4 separate regions of the Homo sapiens genome follow, and all the other regions are linked to region 3. The links are contacts of gene promoters, found by promoter capture Hi-C in blood cells and fetal thymus (Javierre and others, 2016). All regions are on one chromosome and are shown on one strand. The core of a region is centred on a gene start or on the middle of the fragment in contact, and the rest is flanking DNA. Distances in the headings are between cores, read along the strand shown. Region 1 has its middle 170 kb from the start of PDE8A. Region 2 overlaps PDE8A (phosphodiesterase 8A). Region 3 holds the start of ALPK3 (alpha kinase 3). Region 4 overlaps PDE8A (phosphodiesterase 8A).

Region 1 (3,148 bases), core at 522-3,021, 330 kb before region 3:
TAATTTTTTTCATATCTACACGAGTTTCCTCATTTTGTAAAAATGATACATGGCTTGTGGGTTTTTAAAAATAGTTGATTTTGGAGGCCAGGTGCAGTGACTCATGCCTGTAATCCCAGCACTTGTGGGAGGCCAAGGCAGGTGGATCATGAGGTCGGGAGTTCGAGACCAGCCTGGCCAACATAGTGAAACCCCATCTCTACTAAAAGTACAAAAATTAGCTGGGCATGGTGGCGGGTGCCTGTAGTCCCAGCTATTCAGGAGGCTGAGGCAGGAGAATCACTTGAACCTGCGAGGTGGAGGTTGCATTGAGCCAAGATCACGCCATTGCACTCCAGCCTGAGTGACAGAGTGAGACTCCATCTCAAAAACAAACAAACAAACAAAACTTGATTTTTAAGGGCAGTTTTTAGGTTTACAACAAAATTGAGAAGAAGCTTTTCAAAAGTTTTTGAACTATGGGTGTTCCCCATACCCTCTGCCGTCCCCCATTAGCAACTCCCCCAGCAGAGTGGCACATTGGTTACAGCTGATGAACCTACATTGACACATCGTTATCACCCAGAGCCCCTAGTTTACATTAGGATTCACTCTGCTGTTGTACATTCTGTGGGTATGGACGAATGTATAATGACATGCATCTACCATTATAGAGTATTTTCACTGCCCTAAAAATCTGCTGTGCTTTGCTTCTGTGTCCCCTTACCCCATGGCAACTACTAAGCTGTTTACTGTCTCTACACTTTTGCCTTTTCCAGGCTGTCAATAGTTGGAATCGTACAGTATGTAGCCCTTTCAGATCGGCTTCATTCACTTAGTAATATGCATTAAAGGTTCCTCTGTGTCTCTTCATTCCTTGATAGCTCAATTCTTTTTAGTGCTGAATAAAATTCCATTGTCTGGATGCATCACAGTTTATCCATTCACTAACTGAAGGATATCTTGGTTGTTTCCAAGCTTGAGCAATTATGAATAAGGCCATTGTAAACATTCATGTGAAGGATTTTATGTGAACATAAAATTTCAGCTCCTTTGGGTATATACCAAGGACATGATTATTGGATCATTTGGTAAGATTGCATTTAGTTTTGTGAAAAACTACCAAACTGTCTTCCAATGCGGCTGTATCATTTTTGCCTTCCCACCAGCAATGAATGAGACGTCCTGTTGCTTCACATCCTCATCAGCATTTGGTGTTGTCTGTGTTCTCGAGTCTGGCCATTCTAACAGGTGTGTAGTGGTATCTCACTGTTGTTTTAGCTTGTGCTTCCCCGATGACATATGGTGTGGTGCATCTTTTTATATCCTTATTTGCCATCTGTAGATCTTCTCTGGTGAAGTCTTTGTGAAGATCTTTGACCCATTTTAATATCAGATTGTTTTCTTATTGCTGAGTTTTAAGAGTGCTTTGTATATTTTGGATCTTTATGTGCATTTTGCAAATATTTTGTCCCAGTCTGTGGCTTTTCTTCTCATCCTCTTCACATTCTCTTACAGAGCAGGTTTTTAACTTTAATGGAATCCAGCTGATCAGTTATTTCCGTCACAGAATGTGCCTTTGTTGTGGTATCTAAAAAGTTTTCAGTATACCCATGCTCACCTAGGTTTTCTCTTATGCTGTCTTCTAGGAGTTTTACATTTTATATTTGGGCCTATGAGCCAATTTGAGTTAATCTGTGTGAAGGTTGTAAGGTCTGTGTCTAGATTCTTTTTTTTTTTTTTTTTGTATGTGGATGTTCAATTCTAGCACAATTTAGTAAAAAAAAACAAAAACAAAAACACAAAACTGTCTTTGTTTCATTGTGTTGCTTTGCTCCCTTGTCAAATATCAGTTGACTATATTTATGTGGGGTCCATTATTTCTGGCACTCTATTTTGTTCCATTGATCTATTTATTCTTTCGCCCTACTGCATCTTTTTGAATACTGTGGCTTTATAGTAAGTCTTGAAGTCAGGTAGTATCAGTCTTCCAACTTTGTTCTTCTCCCTTAGTATCCTGTTGGCTATTCTGGGTCTTTTGCCTCTCCAGTAAACTGTAAAATCAGTTTGTTAAGATCCACAAAATAGCTTGCTGGGATTTTGATTGTGGTTACATTGAATCTAGATGAAGCTGTGAAGAAATTACATCTTGGCAATATTGAGTCTTCCTATCTATGAACATGGAATAGCTCTTCATTTATTCAGCTCTTCTTTGATTTCTTTCATATAAGATTTGTAGTTTCCCTTATAAAGATCTTGTATATATTTTGTTAGATTTATATATAAGTATTTCATTTTGAGGTGGGGGGGCTAACATAAATACTATTGTGTTTTTAATTTCAAATTCTACTTATTGTTGGTATAGGAAAGTGACTGACTTTTGTTTTTTAACATTGTACTCTGTAACCTTGCCATAATGGCTTATTCCAGGTTTTTTTATTCTTTTGGATTTTCTACATAGGTAATCATGTCATCTGCGAACACAGTTTTATTTCTTCCTTCTTATTCAGTATATCCTTTCTCTGCACTGGACTGCAGTCCAGTGTTGAAAAGGAATGGTGACAGGGACCTCCTTGCATTGCTCCTGTTGTTAGCAGGAAAGCTTCTAGTTTCTCACTATTCAGTATGATAACTGTGGTTTTTCATACTTGGGATAAATCCTATCTGGTTGTGAAGTGTAATTCTTTTTACACATTGCTGGATTCTATTTGCTAATATTTTGTTGAGGATTTTTGTATCTAGGTTCATGAAAGATATTGGTCTGTCATTTGCTTGCCATGTCTTTGTCTGGTATGTGTATGAGTCTGGCCCCATATAATGAGTTATAAAGTATCCCTTCTGCTTTGATCTTCTGAACCAGATTGTAAAATAAGGGTATAATTTCTTCCTTATATGTCTAACAGAATTCACAAGTGAACCCATTTGAGCCTGGCATTTTCTGTTTTGAAAAGTTATTAATTATTGATTTCTTTAATAGATATAGGCTTATTCAGATTGATTGTTTCTTGTGAGTTTTGGCAGATTGTGTCTTTCAAAGAATTGGTCCTTTTCTTTCTTTCTTTTTTTTGACACTGAGTCTCACTCTGCTGCCCAGGCTGGAGTGCAGTGGCATGATCTCGGCTCACTGCAACCTCCGCCTCCCAGATTCAAGCGATTCTCCTGCCTCAGC
Region 2 (2,935 bases), core at 427-2,926, 260 kb before region 3:
CCTTTACATAGTGGAAATATCTCACGACAAAGTGAATTACATAGTTCTGAGAAGATGGACCCATTCCACCATCAAATTAAATACTCCATAAAGACATCTTAGCAGCCACTGTGTTCTGTCATATAGTTCTATTCAAATGTAAAAATATTTGTGAACATTACTCCCCCATTTCTAAAGAGCTCCTTGCTTTTTACCTGCACAATAAGTGGACAATACTCTACCTGGCTGAAGAGGAAGCTGATGCCTAAGAGGCAGAGCCTCTGCATATCACTATCTATAAGCCCCAGCCAGACCAATCTGGGACAGGGGTCCCCTTAAAGAGTTCCTTCTACTACCACGGTGAACGCAAATGACCCGTCTGAACTGTGATCAGGGTCTTGTCTGGGTGTCAAGCAACCTAAAAATCTAGCCCTTGGTTCGTGCCTTAAAAGCTGTATGATTGTATATGAGGCACCTAACATTCCTGAGCCTGTTTCCTCAACTGTAAAGCAAGAAAAATAATACTGTTCCTACCCAATGAAGGTCACCGAGAATAAAAAGACATGATGGGAGAAAGCATTTTAAGTACAAACTGCTGCATAAATGTAAAGAACAGCTACTGTCACCCCCACAGGGGAAGGCAAGACCTGTTGACCAGGAGCATGATAAACCTTATACCTATAGGCCAAAACAGAGCCCCTTTCTTACCCAGAGGTCTGACAGAGGTGACATGCCTGCCAGCTCCCACCGACTGAGAAGGGAGGAGTATGCTAGACCTGCTGTCCACACCTCCATCAGCCAAGACCCCATGGGAACACCCAAAAACACTGGACAGGAACCCACTTCTGATTGGGCAGGGACAGGGAAAAGAGATTTCTTGACATAGTGCTTGTGCCACTCCAGGAGACATGGAATCGGGGCCTTGAGATAGACAGGGGTCCTCAGTTCCTCCGCAGGTAAGATTCTGGGATGTGAGGGCTGTGGAGGGGATGTGAGGGCTGTGGAGGGAATGTGTATTTATCCATTTCCACAAATGGATTCCCATGCATGCAATCAGACTTTTTAATTGGTCTGAATGTTATGTATCCACCAAACTTTTTTACCCCAAAGGCAGAAATCAAGGTAAAAAAAACTAGCATGTGACCAAATGTACAGCATCTTGCTCCTGTTTGCCCCCTCCCTCAAAACTTTTGTTTTGCTATGCGTGTTTAAACACTGTTCTCTTTATCTAAACATCTCATCTTTCCTGCCCCTTGCCAACTTTTGTTTCTGTCCCAAGGATCCCACAGGGCATGGAGGGTGAAGAATCAGGTCCAGGGATCCTCAGAAAGCAAGCTTATTCCCTCTGCTTAAACAGCGGTTAGTCTCCTCTCCCTTAACCTTCTTCCACGAAAGGGGCTGGGACTACAAATCCTAGACTTCTAAGCTAACTTAACCTCACTTTCTCCAAAGCATATCACACCCACGGCTAGGACCTGAGCCCATCTTTGCTAGGCCTCTCCCAGTGGTTCTCAACTCTCAGCTGCATATTAGAATTATCTGCAATTTGAAAAAACACCAGCATGCAGGCCCCTCCCCAGACCAACTGAAACAGACTCCCTAGGGATGTTATTCAGGTGATTCTAATGTGCACCCAGCAGTGAGTCTACCGACTCAATGGCCAAATCCAATTGAGGAAGCTAGCAGGTCCTCCACCTACTTTTCAATCCTGAAACATGGCTAAAACACAAAATAGCTCATGGCCTTTCCTATGCCCCATCCCCTGTACCAGAGATATCATTATGGTGTTAGCTTTCAGATTCAAGCCTTGGCACCACCGCCTACAGCCATGACTGGGAGAATCCCCTTCCTCCAGGTCTAACTCTTCTTCTCAGTAACCTGAGCATCCTTTTGTCACACAAAAGTAAGAGACTCTGGATGAGATTAGTTAGCACTAATTAGTTAGTGGTCTCTGAGGACTGGTTGACCGCATGAATTCCTCACCTACAAAATGGAGAGCCTGCCACTACCTCTACATTTCCTAAGTCAGGTGCTTCTAAAGTGACTACTGTAAAGCTTTTTGGGCTTTTTGCATGGACGTGTCCTCACAGGGGCGTGCACCTAAAAGTGGTTCCATTGAAGTCTTCAGGGGGTTCCTTGATTTTGATTAAGGTGTGCAGGCTTGAGGCAGCAAGAGTGTGTGTGTCAGTTACTTTTCAAGTTAGCTCCATGATAACACAGTAATACTAAGAAAATATAAGGACCATGATTTACTTGACCTTCTACCAGGATGCTCTTTCTGGTCCACAGAACTATGCTGATAGACTTCTTGGGCAGAATTTCAAACACGGCAGTCACCAGGCACAAATTTCCAACAGTGCATCTATGTACTTTCAAAGAGACCTCAAACAAACACAAGCCTTAATGACCTCATGCGGCTGTAGGTAAGCAAATAACCCAAGGCAGAGGGAATAATCTATCCCCTAAGTTTCACTAGAAAGTGGAAGCTTCTAAGGTTCTTGTTAAAAGGAATAGCCAGTTTTGCGGCCTTAGTTGCAAAAGCAAGCAGCTTAGGGAGGGATGACATAAAGATCCATAGGGGACTTCTGACTTCCAACCTGGGACGCCTTACTGCTGGCTAAGTAAACTGTTCTCATACAATTTAACAGGAATTACTAGAGGTCAGGGAATGGAGGTAGGTGCTGATGTGTATGTATGTTGTGGGGGTTGTCCAAAAAGGGGGAAACACAAGAAAGCCACAGCTATATAATCAATAACCTAATGTGTGCTTTTTATATAAAACTGTATTTACATATAAACTAAAATCTTAAATTCCACCTCATCTGATATTAATATCAATATCAATATCTGTGTTCTTTTTGTCTGCATTTACTTGCTACCTCTATGTTCTTTTACTTAAGCTCCTTTTATCATGTTAAGTGTCTTGTAACTGTTATAGAATTGTACTTTTTCAACC
Region 3 (3,274 bases), core at 85-2,584:
CAAGGTCAGTAGGACTCAGCCAATTCACGAGGAAGTGCCCAGGACTTTTCCTGAATGTCCTCGATGCCTGTTTTTATGCTGTTTTAGGAATGGAGAACAAGAGGTCTCTGGACAGCCTCTTGGAGGAATGGCCGTTTTCTGCATAATACACAAGTCAAGTTCTCAGGCTATGAAACAACCACTATCTCAACACATTTCCCTTTGGAAAACAGACTCCAGAAGTGAAGGGAAACTGAGCTGCCCACAGGGGGCAGGAAGTGTCTGTCTCCATGGCAATGCGCCTGTCCACGTGTGCCTGTGTGCCTTTGATTTCCTGGATGCCTGTCTATTGTCTTTGTGTCTTTATATCTGTGGGTGGCCTAGCTGCTAAAACAAAGCTTCCACACCTCTTGAACTCTTGGAAGACCAGTGAAGGGCTCATCAGTTCCACACCTCCCTTGGCATTTCACTTCCCCAAACTGGACAGGGCACTTGGCTCCCTCAGAGCTGCAAGTCCTTAATTCCCAACATCTCCAGACAGTACCTCATCCCACCCCCTATCTCACCAGCCCCCACTCAGGTCCTGGGGAGGACCCAAGTCCTCGGCCCAGTAGAGGAACCTTATTTACAAAGGTTTATTTCTTCCTGGAGAACCTCCCCACCCTGAGCTAAGCAGCTCCTACTCTGGGCAGCCCCCCAGCACCCTCTCCCTGTCCCCACCAGTGCTCTCCCCCTCCCTTCCTGCCAGGGAGGAATTTCAGCCACTCTGGCTTTCCTTATCGCTAGCTGTGGAATCCCAAGCCAGGGAGTAGCAGGGTAGGGGGCAGGGGAGATAAGGAAAGCCTTCAGACCCCATGAAATCACTCCAAAGTGGAGCCTTTGTCCTCTCTTGAGCCTCGAATTGCCAGAGGCCTGAGGCGCATGGATCAGGAGGGGTCACAAGGGGCTATGAAAGCCATTCCAGCCCGGCCATGTCCCCAGGCCCTGGGCCTTGGGGCTGAGAGGGCTCGAGGGCGCAGGCCCAGCCCAGGCCTCCAGGGGCCAGGCCGCCCTCACAGGGACTGATCCCAGGGCATCGCCGGCCCGACGCCGCCCTGCCCCTTGGTGCCACTTACCTGGTCTCGGGCCGCACGCTGAGCAGGTAGCTCCGGCTGGCTGGGCTGGGGATCCACACGGGGCCGTCGTCCTCACCGTCGCCCCCCGCCCCCGACCGCCCACCCGCGCCCCAGCCCCGGCTGGGGGCCCTCCGCGACCCCATGGCACCGCCCTCCCCGACCGCCGGCCCCGCACTCGCCGCTGCCTCGCCTGTCCTCCAGGCCCCGGCCCCCGGGCCCCTGCCCGCCGCCGCCGCTCCCGCCCGCGGCTGACGCGCGCCCCTATTTATAGCCGGTGGCCGGGCCGTCGTCACCTGCTGCTGTCCCTCCCCTGGCCTGGCCCGACCCGGGCAGCGCGGCTTGGAGACGCCGGGGGGCGCCGGGGCCCATGTGCCCGCCCCAGGGCCGGCTCCGAGTCCGCTCCCTTGGCGGCCCTGGTGTCTGCAGTAGCGCCGCGTCTGGAGAGGCCCGGGAGGCCTCGGGAGGAAGGCGCAGCGGGTGTCCTGGTCATGGAGGACAGGCCCCTTCGTGGAGCTCCCGGGACCCGGCTCCCGGCCGGCCTGCTCATGTCCCGTGTGGCATATGAGGGGTCCACGAGGCCTGGCCGGGGCCAGGGGAGCCAGGTCAACCGCTGGCCAGCTTGGGCTAGACCGCGGGAGACCAGGGAGCCAAAGAACCAGCCCTCTTCCTGGCACCAGCCGTGACTGACCCTCGCCTTGCCTCGCCAGTGGCTGTTGGCCCAGCACATAGACAAGCCAAGCCACCTCCATTAGTGACCTGAGTCCCTGGGAGGCCGGAACCCCGTGGGATCTCTCTCCTGTCTCCCCCAACACCCCCAGTAACTAGCATAGATTAGGGGCTCAATTAACACTTCTAGATCACTCCTTCGGCCTCCATTTCTCAGCACCAGAGGGGGAAATGGGCTGAGTCCTGATACCCAGAAAAATAATCAAATCATGCAACAATTTCCAAGAACTAGTGCCAAGCACTGCCGAAACCTGGTCTAAATATTGGAAGTCCCCACAGACTTTTTTTTTTTTTGAGACAGAGTCTGGCTCTGTCGCCCAGGCTGGAGTGCAGTGGCGCTATCTCGGCTCACCGCAACCTCCGCCTCCCGGGTTCATGCCATTCTCCTGCCTCAGCCTCCCGAGTAGCTGGGACTACAGGCGCCCCACACCACGCCCGGCTAATTTTTTTCTTTGTATTTTTTAGTAGAGACGGGGTTTCACCGTGTTAGCCAGGATGGTCTCGATCTCCTGACCTCGTGATTCGCCCGCCTGGGCCTCCCAAAGTGCTGGGATTACAGGCGTGAGCCACCGCGCCCGGCCGGAAGTGCCCACAGACTTTTTTATCCATCCTTCTTTCTCCTATTTTCCTGAGAGCATCCAGAAAGTACCTGAAGCTAAATGGCTGTAATTGTTAGAAAGTGGGAGCAAAGGAGTCCAACCCTTCTGTTTTCGAAGCTGCACCCATCCCTACTCCTTTTGGAAATGGCTTTCCCCTACTCCGTGTGGTTCCAATGGCAACTACCTTGTTCCCACATGATCCCACTCCTGGCCTCAGCTGACTGCCATCAAACTCAAGCCAGGCTATTCACGGTACCCAATCTCCCTGACTATAGACCCTGGCTGTGCCAATAAAGTTCTTCTCTAAAACATTTTTAACTGGAATTGGGAAAGAAAACCAGACCCTCTGTGGTGGAAAACTGAGCTGTGAGGCCACAGCTGTCAGCAGCCATGTTTCCTGCCCTGTAGAGTAAGCCAGTTTACAGTGAGGAATAAGGAAGCTAGCACAGAGAGAAGCAGAGGCAAAGGACACAGGGTCCTGGTGGCTTTCAGGTGCCCTCGTTCAGGTGTTCCTGGGTTCCAGCTTTGTCCCTGGCCTTCCTGCAGGTTGGCAGTTCAAACTTTCCTTGGAATCTGTGTACCAAAAAAGTTCTCCCTTTGCTATTTCCAATTTAGGCTTCTGTTGGTAGAAGTATCCTGACCAATACTAATGTGTTCTCTCCTAGTGATCCCAAATTCATCTCTTGATCACATGTCCCCATTCATTCTTGCTCTTGGCTCTCTGGAGGTGCACAGAATCTTCAGTCATCTACAGGGTAGTCTTTCAAATATTTGAAAACCCACTTGGAGTTCTGGTTCATTTGTTTAAATCGTGTATGCTGGTTCAAGCAGCAGAGAAAAAAAGGGGGTGGGTGG
Region 4 (3,268 bases), core at 675-3,174, 300 kb before region 3:
GTTTTTTTTCTTCCCTTTTAAAAGTAATTAAGGCATTTAAAACATAAACCTTTAACTATATAATTGGCTTCATTCTATAGGTTTTGACAGATAAGCTTCTCATTTTTGTTATTTTCTAACTAATGTCATTTTTGGTTTTATTTCTTTGTTGATTCCCAAATTATTCAGAATATTTTCTCATTTGTTGTAGCTGATATTTTAAATTTAACCATTAGTTATTCTATTTTGTTGTGTTGTGGTTAGAAAATATAGCCTATGAAGTTTAGAAGTTCAACACATTATGTCCCAGTATAAGATCATTTTTGGAAATACCCTACAGACTCTTGAGATGTATAGCTAATAAATCAGCCTTGCAAATTTATTTAAATTGATTTAAATTAAAATTCAATAATTTAAATTTTAAGTGCGCAAATAGTATGGTATGTGAATTACATTTCAATAAATGTTTTTTTTTTTTTGAGACGAGAGTCTTGCTCTGTCACCCAGGCTGCAATGCAATAGCATGATCTTGGCTCACTGCAACCTCCACCTCCTGGGTTCAAGTGATTCTCCTGCCTCAGCCTCTCAAGTAGCTGGATTATAGGCCTGCACCACCATGCCCAGCTAATTTTTCTATTTTTAGTAGAGATGGTGTTTCACCATGTTGGCTAGGCTGGTCTCGAATTCCTGATCCATCTGCCTTGGTATCCCAAAGTACTGGGATTACAGGTGTGAGCCACCATGACATTTCAATAAATGCTCTAATAAACTGTTTTCAGTTAGCTCTCTAAATATATATTTGTATGTTGTCTATAGAGTAGTTTAAAAGCAATACAGCAAAAATTGGGTTCTTTATATGCTGAGCCATATTGACACAGATGTCCCTCTGTTGTTACTTGTTTTCATAATTTAGAAAACAGTCCCCTTCTCTGGACACCCTATTTTACCTACAGTCTGATTTGATTTTTTCTGGAAAAAAACAAAAAACAAAAACAGAAATAAGAACCAGAGGGAGCACGGAAAGTTCTGAGAAGGTTTACCCTTCAAGGTGAGGAATGAACACTTGTTCACTCCCTGTGTGTGCCAGATGTCATCTTCTGCTTTGCTCTCTGCCAAATGCTAGTCCCGTGATACAGAGGAGGAAATGCAGCCAGGAGCCACTTGCCCTGGCCCTGCATGACTGCAGTCATCTTAGGCCCCAGTCAAGGGAGCAACAGGTCAAGGGCAGAAGCTTCAGAAACTAAAGTGGTTTGGCATGGCCCAAAAGTGGCCTGTGACTGGGACAAAGGAGAAGAAATGATGAGAGGAGCTCATTGTTGAGGTGAGTGTGGAGAGCTGTAGAGTTTAAAGTTTAAATCCTGAGGGAGGTGGGAAGCTGCTCCTGGGAATGACAATATCAGGTATGCTGTTTCAGAAAGATCACATTGGCAGTAGGGTAAGGGCATTCCATGGGAGGCAGGGCAGGCAAGAATTCTAGTTTGGAACTGCCCAGATGCGAAAGGATTGCGGGGGGCCTCACTGGGACAGCAGCAGGAGATGAATCTGAGAACATTTAGGTGTGACAGGAGGCAAGGTCAGATGATCAACCAGATGTGGGGGGTTGAGGAGTGGAAAGAACCAAGGATGACTCTCGGTTTCTAATCTGGGTATCCGGTTGGATAATGGAACCCTGGATTAGGTAGATAACCCTGGGTGGGAGCAGTGCTGGGAACAGAGATGATGAACCTGACCTTAGAGCCCTGCAGACTTTCATGTACAGATGGAGGCCCTAAAGTGGGGATATCCAACAGTTACTTGGCTCTACTAGTGTACAGGCTTGGAGTGAGACCCCCAGAAGAATAGCCCTATCCTGTCCTTGTTAGGTTTCTCCTCCGGGACCAAATTCTGCCTCTTGTACCCTCATGGAATAGCTGGGATTATGTCATGAATTAACACATCAATTTCCCAAAGCTAATGTGGCCTCCTGCCTGATTCCTCGTATGACCTTGCCCTTCCTGTGCCAGGCTGCACACGTGAGCAGTCATGCTATGTATCTTAGTGGAGGCAGAAGCACTAGACTCTCCCCACTGCTCCTGCCCATTAAATGTGGCAGGTAAACAACAGCTCACCTTTATCCTCTCCTTGGAGAGAAAATAGGCAGTGGCATGAAGCACATCAGCAGAATGTGTAGAATTGTGGTAGGGATTGGAGGAATGATAATTGGCTTCGATAATTTGTAACCATGATCTTAGCGTTGACTCGGAGCAGTGTAAGAATTCACAGATTCCAAAGCGAGCAAACATTTTGAGACCAAGATAAATCAAAGGCCTATAGACAGAAAAAACCCCACAATATTAGAACAAAGCAAACAAACAGGCCAAGTGTTTAAGGCCTGAATAGGTTCCAAGCCAAATTTCAGAGAGTGCAGGGCAGCAAAGTGGAGATTGCTTGGGCTGTGCTGGCCTCTCTCTGGTGGGGCCAACCAACTCTGGTTCCACTTCTTGCCCTCAGGGGACCATGATGCACGGGTGAGAGCTGGCTGCCCACAGCAGCTCTGACCTCAGCCTCGTTGGGGCTCCCGATTTGTTGGGGGGAGTTTGCTCATTCTGTCCTTCCAGGTTCAGCTTCCTACTTGCACTAGTGGGTTCCTCAAAATAACCCTTTCTCCAGGCTAAGCTTGTACCACCTTGAACACTATCCTCTCCTTTGGACTTGCTGGACCCATGCCATTGGCCAGACATCCTGCCTATAAGAAAACATTTCCTGAAAATGTCATATAAGCCAGACACTGCCGTATGCAATGGAATTTTCTCAACACCCACCTTTCTGGAGGTGGGCGTTAAAAGTATGAGGGGATTTCCCCTGAGGTTTCCAGCTGGCCACCAAGTTAGGTTCTTACTTGAGAAATCACCTTGACCCAGCATCTGGCCCTTGCCTGTGAAGGCCAAGAAACTGGCTGTGTTGAGGCAGTATCCAGAAGTGATCACAGGACTTAAACTGACCTGCCTTAGCCCAATTCACATGGATGTAATGTCACTAGCATGTAAACCAGATGCTCAAAGACTCATGTGCCCAGGGAGTATTCTTTTCAACTCTCCTTGGCTGTGCTGGGAGATAGGGAAGTAGAACGTATCAGAAGGTTAACTCAAGGGGAGCCTGAAAAAGTCAGGGAGTTATCTTGGGGACAGGTCACCCAGACTGAGATGAGACCTGAGGAGCCATCCCATGGCCCAACCGAGCACACCTCTGCCTAGACACCCTAGTGGGCAGTCCTGGCTGGAATCAGCTCTGTGGACCTCCCTTTCTTGTG

The links. Contacts are between HindIII fragments. The CHiCAGO score rates a contact against its expected background, and 5 or more counts as called.
Region 1: a fragment that was not itself captured here is called in contact with the fragment with the promoter of ALPK3 in region 3 in 1 of 17 cell types (M2 macrophages); the score reaches 5.2 in M2 macrophages.
Region 2: a fragment that was not itself captured here is called in contact with the fragment with the promoter of ALPK3 in region 3 in 1 of 17 cell types (naive B cells); the score reaches 5.7 in naive B cells.
Region 4: a contact is called between a fragment that was not itself captured here and the fragment with the promoter of ALPK3 in region 3, in 1 of 17 cell types (naive CD8 T cells). The highest score is 5.5, in naive CD8 T cells.

The regions. Positions count from the first base shown.
Region 1 is chr15:85,148,070-85,151,217 of GRCh38, reverse strand. No RefSeq gene overlaps it. Among named protein-coding and RNA genes, the nearest start is that of PDE8A, 170 kb to the right of the region's middle. RefSeq lists an enhancer at 1,349-1,518. The HindIII fragment of the contact is 1,624 bases long and covers 960-2,583 here.
Region 2 is chr15:85,079,992-85,082,926 of GRCh38, reverse strand. The region is part of intron 5 of PDE8A (phosphodiesterase 8A); the gene reads right to left. Among named protein-coding and RNA genes, the nearest start is that of PDE8A, 100 kb to the right of the region's middle. The HindIII fragment of the contact is 720 bases long and covers 1,317-2,036 here.
Region 3 is chr15:84,815,416-84,818,689 of GRCh38, reverse strand. ALPK3 (alpha kinase 3) reads right to left here and starts at 1,334. Exons shown (of 14, transcript NM_020778.5): 1 at 1,095-1,334. The coding sequence starts at 1,237. RefSeq lists an enhancer at 1,706-2,236. The HindIII fragment of the contact is 9,413 bases long and covers 380-3,274 here.
Region 4 is chr15:85,116,659-85,119,926 of GRCh38, reverse strand. PDE8A (phosphodiesterase 8A) reads right to left here. Exons shown (of 22, transcript NM_002605.3): 17 at 2,088-2,286. Among named protein-coding and RNA genes, the nearest start is that of PDE8A, 140 kb to the right of the region's middle. RefSeq lists a cis regulatory region at 1,652 and an enhancer at 1,568-1,737. The HindIII fragment of the contact is 1,424 bases long and covers 1,213-2,636 here.